3 separate regions of the Homo sapiens genome follow, and all the other regions are linked to region 1. The links are contacts of gene promoters, found by promoter capture Hi-C in blood cells and fetal thymus (Javierre and others, 2016). All regions are on one chromosome and are shown on one strand. The core of a region is centred on a gene start or on the middle of the fragment in contact, and the rest is flanking DNA. Distances in the headings are between cores, read along the strand shown.

The links. The method cuts DNA at HindIII sites, captures the fragments that hold promoters and counts their contacts. A CHiCAGO score of 5 or more calls a contact.
Region 2: a contact is called between a fragment that was not itself captured here and the fragment with the promoter of ING2 in region 1, in 1 of 17 cell types (neutrophils). The highest score is 5.0, in neutrophils.
Region 3: a contact is called between a fragment that was not itself captured here and the fragment with the promoter of ING2 in region 1, in 3 of 17 cell types (activated CD4 T cells, monocytes and total CD8 T cells). The highest score is 8.2, in activated CD4 T cells.

The regions. Positions count from the first base shown.
Region 1 is chr4:183,503,499-183,506,307 of GRCh38, reverse strand. It overlaps ING2 (inhibitor of growth family member 2), which reads right to left and starts at 1,250. Exons shown (of 2, transcript NM_001564.4): 1 at 941-1,250. The coding sequence starts at 1,112. It overlaps ING2-DT (ING2 divergent transcript), which reads left to right and starts at 1,793. Exons shown (of 3, transcript NR_033995.2): 1 at 1,793-2,132. RefSeq lists silencers at 189-908, 1,129-2,168. The HindIII fragment of the contact is 10,965 bases long and covers 1-2,809 here.
Region 2 is chr4:184,448,180-184,450,988 of GRCh38, reverse strand. All of the region lies in intron 1 of IRF2 (interferon regulatory factor 2), which reads left to right. Among named protein-coding and RNA genes, the nearest start is that of IRF2, 25 kb to the left of the region's middle. The HindIII fragment of the contact is 2,270 bases long and covers 318-2,587 here.
Region 3 is chr4:182,910,097-182,912,905 of GRCh38, reverse strand. All of the region lies in intron 3 of DCTD (dCMP deaminase), which reads left to right. Among named protein-coding and RNA genes, the nearest start is that of DCTD, 5.9 kb to the left of the region's middle. The HindIII fragment of the contact is 1,680 bases long and covers 506-2,185 here.

The DNA of each region.
Region 1 (2,809 bases), core at 1-2,500:
ATCCGCGACGGTCCGAGCTGCTGATCGCCGTCCTGATCCATTGACTGGGAAAGAGGTTGGAAACATCACCGCAAAACATGCTGCAAACCCCGATTCGGACTCCGCTGGGGCCGAACCAACGCCCCCGCACAGCCCCGACTCCCTCCCCAGCAGCCAGCTCGCCACCGCCCCTCTCGCGACCAGCCATTTTCCAGGCCCGCGGGAACGCGCGCCGCGCCCCTCCCACGCCCCTCGTCAAGCCCGCAGGCCCCGCCCCCGGCGCGGGGGCCCTCCCCGCCACACACGCCCCTCTCTTCCTCTCCCGCGGGGGACCCCTCCCCTCTTAACCATTTTGCCGAAAGAACTGGGCTAGGGCTACAACGCGGGGCGCCCGCGAACTTTCCCGGGGCGAGAGAGCGGAACGGACTGCTCTCCTCCGGGCCGGGGCAGGAGCGCGGAGGAAGGCCCCCTCAGTCCGCCTCCGCGGCCTCTCGCCCCCTCCCCCCGCACGTTCCAAAGCACCCGCACTCCGGGGTGGGGGCGAGTGAGGTGGGGAAGCGCGCCCCGCAGACCAGCGGGAGCCCGGCCGCTCACTCCCTCCGACCCTTGCCCGGCTGCAGTCCCGGGCCGGGGCCGCAGGGTCTGCGGCACGGGGCGGGCCAGCGCCTGAACAAATGCTTGCTGCTTAAAATGGCTGATTCCCCTCAGCGGCAGCTGCAGCCGCTGGGTCTGCAGCGGGGGCTGACAAGCGGCCCCCACCCCCACTCTGGGGACCCCAGAGAAGTACTCGCCCACCGCGGGGCCACGGAGGGCCGCCAACCCGGTCTCCAGTCCTCCCAGTCCCGCTCGGCAGACCCTCGGTGCGCTCGGGGAGACTGTCACGGGAGAAAGGGAAGGTGGCACTCCCCCGGACAGGCTCCCCGCCACCGGCTCCCGAGGCCGGCAGCCCCGCGGCTCCTACCTTGATATTTGTTGTCCAGCTCTCGCAGCACAGACACGTTCCTCTGCATGTCGTGGGGCAGCGACTCCACGCACTCAAGGTAGTCCTGCACGTAGCAGGTGAGCAGCCGGCTCCGCTCCCCGGTCAGGAGCGCGGCCGACGAGTACAGTTGCTGCTGCTGCTGCCCTAACATCCTGCCGATCCGCGCCGTCGCCGCCGCCTCCGCATCCAGCAGCCGCACATGCACCGGCCGCGGCCGCCGCGGGCCCTCAGCTCAGCAGCCCGGCGCCGCGGGGACCCCGCAGCCGCTCGAGAGGGCACGGCCGCGCTCCCCGATCTCCACTCCCCCCAGAGCAGCCCTCACTCCCCGCCCCCGCAGCACCAGCCCAGGGGCGGGGCGAAACCGGGGCTCCCTCCTTTCTCCCCTCCCGCTCCAGGACCGGAGCAGTGGGGATCCCCTCGGCGGGGCCGGCGCCGGGGTCCCGGGCGCTGACACTTCCTGTCCCCCTCGGAGTCCCCAGATGCTACGAGTGCCGTCTCGCAGCCCGGATCCCCATGACAAGCCCGTCGCCGCCCGCCTGTCCCCAGTCACCCTCCGTGCCTCACGGAGAGCCTCCCGCTAGCCTGCCCCCGCCCCTCCGCCCGCGGCCGCCTCTGCGCCTGCGCAGCGCTCCCTGCGAATAAGGCCGGGGCCCGCCCCTACCGCCTACCGGAGGGTTCGCATTCTCCCGCCTTCGCTCCGCCGCCCGGGCGATTGGTCTGCCGGCTCTGGGCTAGCGGGGGAGGGTGTGGGGGGCGGCCAAACGGCAGGCCGCGCCCCGCCCCCCTTAAAGGGGAAGCCCGGGGAGCCAGTCTCTGCGCCTCGCGTCTGAATGGGACCCGGGAGGGGAGGCGGCTCGGTCCTTCGTGCCGTCCTCCCCGCTGGGAGGGGCAGCTCCAGCTCCGCTCGGCTCGCTCCGCCCGGCCACACCGGCTTTTTCCCCATCAGGCGGTCCGAGTGCGGCTCCTCGCGAGCCTGCAAAGGAGCAGCAGGCGGTTCCTTTTCGGACGACCTGGAGCGAGGCCTGCGGGACTGCGCGCCCCGGCGGGCGGCGTGCGGCTCCCGGCATGCGCGGCGGCTGCGTTCCCGCCGCCTCCGAGCTCGCCTGGGGCTGCCGCCCGCCTCCTGCCGGGCCCTCGGGCTCGCCCGGCACCGCGGGGCTTGATCAGGGAGGTAGGCGGTGCTCCCTCCGGCCCCCGGCGTCGTGTGCCCTGCGGGTTTCGTGGCCCTTCCCCTACGCTGGAATCTTCTGTGTCATTTAGGGGGAGGGGATGCGGGACGGCATCTGTTTGACAACGCATTGGTCCCACAGACAGCCTTTAAAAACAACTGCTTTTGGGGGGTGTCAGAACATTTAAGCACAGGACGTCGGTGAGGCTTCCTGGCGGAGTGGGGCACACGCCAGCTTTACGGGACTTTTTGCTCAGTCCTGCCCCAGGACTGCAATCGGAGGGGACCTGGGGCATGGAGGAGACGCGAGTGAAAACCTAGTCAGCGGGCGGGCCCTCGGCCCCATAATCTACGTGATCTCCTAGTGGGGTTTAATTTCGGTGTAGTGTAAATGAGATGTCAGGCAGAGGAGCTGATTTTAATTACAGATGGACATTTTTGAAAGAAATGGGTGCAAATAGAATGAATGCATGGATAATTTTAATGGAATGCCTATGTAAACAAGGCCAATTGTGAGTACTACCTTTGAGTTAAAATGTGAGTGAGTGGTGACAAATTTGGATCTTCTTAGATCCAGTTTGCAGCGTTGGTACACCTGAATGGTGACCTATTTAGAGCACTTTTGAAACAGCTGTTAATAGTAACTAGCCTTTGACTTGCAAAGAGAAATCTAGATCTTT
Region 2 (2,809 bases), core at 203-2,702, 940 kb before region 1:
CTTCTGGGTATTTAGTCTTTTCGGTTTGCACCAGGGCTTCCGTGGAGGAGGAGGGCATGTGAAATGGAGCAGTTGCTTACGTACTGGTCTCAGTGGACGGTGTGGATGTCATTCATAGGGCATGCACAGCAACAAACAAACAAACAAACAAATGCCATTTAACGTGATCCTTGGAAAGGTATTTTTATAATAACTTTAGTTTTTAAATCAAATATTTAGAATGTCATGGAGAAAGAACAATGATATTACAAATGCCATCATAAAGGAACCTTAGGGAGACTATTTTAAAGAAATTTTGAATCTAAATATTTAAAGCTTTTCTTATTTTATAAGTATTTTATGTATTTGATTGGTAAGGTAAAGCACATACGTATTGTTAGGTAAACTCGACTTAAAGGAAATAATACTTTTAAATGGCTACTTAAGATTTCAAATTTTATAAAAATATTTAGGAAAAGTATTTTTCCACTTTCTAATAAGCAGAAATAGTTTGCATTACATTTTTTCATTTCAGAACTAAACAGTGCTATTATTCACTACATTAAGCCTAGTGTGTGCCAGATTAATGTGTAATATAAATACAGTTTAAGGAAAATGATGCTGATTTTTCGTGTAGCGTGATAACAATAATATATTCCAAAGATTGAAATAACTTGAAATCTACTGCAAGCCCCAAATCCCTTATTTGCAATCCAAAATGCTCTGAAACTGAAAGTTATTATCATGACTCATTTGGCAGGATAGTCTGCCCTGAATTGACATGAAGCTATTCATAGCTTTTATTTATCCCAATCAGTGTGAATGTTCGTGTTTCACTGCAGAAATATTAACTGTGTTGGATTAAGGGGTTCTGCCCTAATTACTTTCCGGGGTGTTTTGTTCCTTGTGGTATATGGTATGTGTACCGCATTATCTTGCTAACATCCACACACTTTTGAATTCTGAAGACTTTATCTGGCCCCAAGATTTTGAATAGAAGACGGTGAGCCTGCGTCAGTATACCTAGCCCCTACAACCAGAGGCTTCTCACATCCTGGTGTTTCCAGGAACAGTCGCTCTTTATATCTGTTTCAGGTGTCAGTATTAATGAGACCCCATTCACATTCAGAAGTGCTCCATTTTGGCTTGGTCACCATACTAACCACATACCATAGTTCTTGGTAACGGCCAGCGCAGTGTTGGTGAACATCAGTACATTTCTAGTGAATTCCCATGTATAAAATAAACAAGATCTACATAAACAACATTCCAGATTGTATCTTGAAAACCTAAAGTCATTTAAAGCATTATTGGTAAGGTATCCCCGACTGCCTGTCTAGATGGCATTTCCCACGCATTGGTGCACGCTTCTTTTGATGGCAGTTCATCCTTCTCCTCACTGTGATTGCCTGTGTCCCTGTCTTCTCTTTCTAGGCTGCAAGCTCCTTCCGTCATTGCGTATCACTGTGCTGGGCGTATATAGCAAGTTCATTATTTAGTCAACTAATATTTATTGAGCGTTGGCCTCTGCCGTACTCTGGGCCCTGGGAATAGCATGGTGAACAAAACAGAATTGACTTTGGTCCTCATGGAGATTCTTGTCTACAGATTTGGGGGCCTGGCCTGGTGAAATGGAGAAGGTTTGCTGTCAAGTGACTTTGAAGCCAAATCTGAAAAATGAGTAAGAGTTAGCTTGGGAGAGGGGATGCTCTTGAGGCTGAGGGGTGACAGACGCAGAGACTTGGGACGGACCCCTCGCTGGAGGCTTGTGGGGTAAGGACAGGCTTTAGGCAGTGGAATGATGAGAGTCTGTTTGTGCTTTTGGAAGGGTGTTCTGGCTGTAGGGCAGAGCTGGGTTGGGGTTGGGGGCCGAGGAGAGCAGTCTGAATGGCTGCCTGGTCCAGGCTTTGTGGAAGGAAGGATCGGTTCTTCACCCCTGGTTTCGGTTTCTGTTCTCAGTGTGGGAGCTGTTCTTGGACAGTGCTGTGTGCTCTTCTCCGGAGTCCGAGGCCAGGGGAGTAACTGCAGTGTTCAGCCAAGTACGAGCAAGTGGAACTGACAGTTGTTCAGGCTTCCGTCTTGCACACGTCGAGGAAACGTTGTAAACAAGAAACAAAAAGCAAAGCCCTTACTCCTAGTGGGTCTTCCCTGAGCCAAGTGCTTGAAAAGCTGTGGGAGTGGGAACTGTTGTCATGATCGAAAATGAAACTATTCTGGGAATGCCAGATTTGGGGCGCTGGGAACCCTGAAGTGTCCTGCAGAGAACTGGTGGTGGAGGGGCCTCTGGAGGACAAACATCTACAATTTGCAAATCTATCAGTGACCCAGCGATGGCACTTCTGGCGGTTTTTCTTCCACCTTAACTTTGAGGTGAGGCAGAGTGACTTGGAAACCAATTCTGTGCTTTAAAATATAAAACATAAATAACTTCTATTGAATTAGCACAGAAGTTTGGCTGGAGGTAAATCTTTGGCGCCTAAATCTGAGCGCTTTTCTCTCAAATACGCACGAGAGCTCTTTGGCCGTCTTATTTCTCCTCTTCTACACAACTGAACAATTTAAATGAATTATGGACCATCACTCCTCATCTCCCCCAGGAAATGAAGCTTAGAGCCTCCTTGTTCAGCTAATTGTTGCTTGATTAAGCTGCCCCTTATGGATGGATAGATAAAGTGATTGATGCATGTGCTTATTAATACCATCCTGGTGCACGGAGGACGAATAAACCGCCAGCAGCTTCATTTAAGCACCACAAAGGGGGTTTCCTAGAGTTTGTTGTATTTGCAGAAAGGCTGTCGTCGTCTTTCCCTCTGTACTGGAAATTACTTAC
Region 3 (2,809 bases), core at 96-2,595, 590 kb after region 1:
GCTGGTGCAAAAGATACCCGTGGTTGGACAGTGCGGAGGGGTCCTGGGTGAGCACTGAGTGGGCCTCCCAATGGGGCCTGTGCCTTCTTCAGTCACCCAGAGCCCCCAGCAGATCTTTAAGCAGTGACCTGGAAGCCAAGGGCCATGCAGTACATTTGCAGCACCTGCCCCACACCCCAGACTTCCCAGCTCTCCTGACTTCCCGTGTAGCTGATTTTGTTGGTTATGAGACACTGCCTTTTGTCCAAATTGAGGAGAGTACCTTTCAGAGCCCCTTTCTAGAAGGAATTTTTTTAAAAACCTGCATAGGTATTTGTCCAACTTCACCGATTGTTTTTTATTGAATAGCTCCTGAGCTCCTGGGCACTGGTTGTCTGTCTGCATTATTTTTTATTATCCATATGATACCTCTAGGTTTTCAAAGCTCTTTGCTCTTACTTATCAATTATTCATTTATATGTAGCTGTGTTAGAATGTCGACAGTTTTCTTTCACGAGAGTAAGCTTGTAATTTGATGTACCATAAAAGTTGTAGAAGGTATTAAATGGTTTCTAAAAGGCATTTAGTATTACTGCCGCCATAATACAGTAAAGATGGGCTTAAAGTCTAAATGACGATGACTGTGTATAAACTGTACACTTGTTGTCTTCTCAAGGTTTTTCAGGCCACAGAGAAGTAAATGTTTGGATTGCCTGGGATGTCACAGAAATGTTTGCTGATAATTGACTCAAATGCAAAGTCTTTTTTTTTTTTTTTGCTTTCGTTTTAAGATTTTCAAAATTAATTTAAAAAATAAGGGGATACTGCCTGGAGTTGGATAGCTCAACCCATTCTTTCCTCATCTACATTAATGGTGACTGAGCTGCTGTAGCAGGAAGGGTAAATTCATAGGTTAATCCCTGTAAAGGAGCTTTAGAGATTATCTCGAGTTCTGGACAATGATTTTTAACTCTTTTGAATGTACAGGACCCTCTTTTAAATGCTGAAAAACTTCCAGGACCCCTGCATAATGCTAAATTCTTAGTATCTTTTGAGTAAGAAACTCCACAATGACAAAAACTACTTCGTATCAGTAACATTTTTTGTTAATCTGAACTTTATTAATTGGATAGCATTTATGTATGTTTGGGAAAAGTTTATGTATGTCCTGGACATGGGATTTATCCAGTTGTGGATATGCTTGGACCCCTTGCAATACCTTAGTAGTGTCTCAGGGTTCTATGCCCACAGGATCTAAGCCTCCTCCTTTCTTGTAAGTAACTTCTATAATGTCACACATGCAGGGTGACATCTCCTAATTCCAAGGTCAGTGCTCTTCCTGCTACCTCCCTGTGTCTCTCCTGTGGGGCACATGAATTCAGCTGTACTGAAATGCCAATCATTGTCTCATTTTTTTTTGCAGTTGATCAGACTGAGGCTCCGATAAAATAATTACTCCTCAGAGATCAGGAGCTCGGGGAGGGGTGGCCTGTGTCCGGCATCATGCAGAAAGCCACATGCGTGGCTCACTGTAACATTTCTTCAAAGGGGAGTGCAGTGGACTGAATGTGTCTCCCCCCAAATTCACATGTTGAAACCCTAATTCCAATGTGCTGATATTTGGAGGTGGGGCCTGGGGGGACGTAATTAGGCCATGAGGGTGGAGCTCTCCTGAATGGGATTAGTGCCCTTCTAAAAGGGACCCCAGGGAGCTCAGTTACTCTTTTTCCATGTGCAAGGATAGGCGGAGAAGATGGCTATCTGCAACCCTGAAAGGAGACCTTGCCAGAATCTAACCATGCTGGTGTCCTGACTTCCAGCCTCCAGAACCATGAGAAATAAATGTCCATTGTTTCTCAGCCACCCAGTCTATGGGACTTTGTTATAGCAGCCCCAAGGGACTGTGACAGGGAGCTTGAGAACTGTGTAAATTTGAGTTTACCAAATAACATACAGCTTAATACTGCTTTATTAATTCCGTAAGTCGGAAGTCATTAGTCCTGATTGATGCCTTGTGGGGAGGAGGGAAACACACACTACTTGTAACATAATAGGAAGATGGAGCTTTTCCTGGGCTGTGTCTCTAGAGAGTTATTTTTAAAGGGTGTTTTTGTTCTTCCAGTCTTGGGATCAAAACTTCATAAAACTATTTTATTATAATGTAGTATTAATGTGGAAAATGAAAATTCCCTCTGCTAAAGAAGCTTTTTATTCCATCCTTTTCCTGAAAAATCCAAAAGATAATATGATGTCAGTAACATTAAGTGGCAGGAAGAAGGCAATGTTATTATACTAAGAATCTTTTCAGATGAATGACAATTAAAAAAGAGGAAGCAGCAGATTTATCTAATTTACAAGATTAAAAAACTTGGGAAGATTTTTATTTTCATGAGGGGGTGGGTTGCTAAACCTGTGATGAAGTATTCAGTTGACATTTTTCATTCCTTTTTCTTTGTGGAATTCATTATAGTGAAGCACATTTAATCAAAATACCAATGTTATCAAATGAGGTAAAATACTCTTGGTGATTCAGATATCACTCTTTCCTTGGGTTTTCGTAACCGATTTTGATGATATAGTTTACAAATTAGAGAGTTGGAGAATTAACTTGTTCCCGTTGTTAAACTTAAGGGAATTTTTAGTAATGCTTGCCACATGTATCCAGCTGCCCAGCACTTGTGGCCTTGCTGATTTCTGCTGGCAAAGGGCTCTGGGTTTTGGTGAGTGCCTCTGTGCTTGGCCTCCTATCCCACCCAATGGACCAGGGAGCCAGGGTTGCTTGGCCTGCTGCATCTCACTGCACCAGGGAGGGAACCGTAGCATCTCAGTG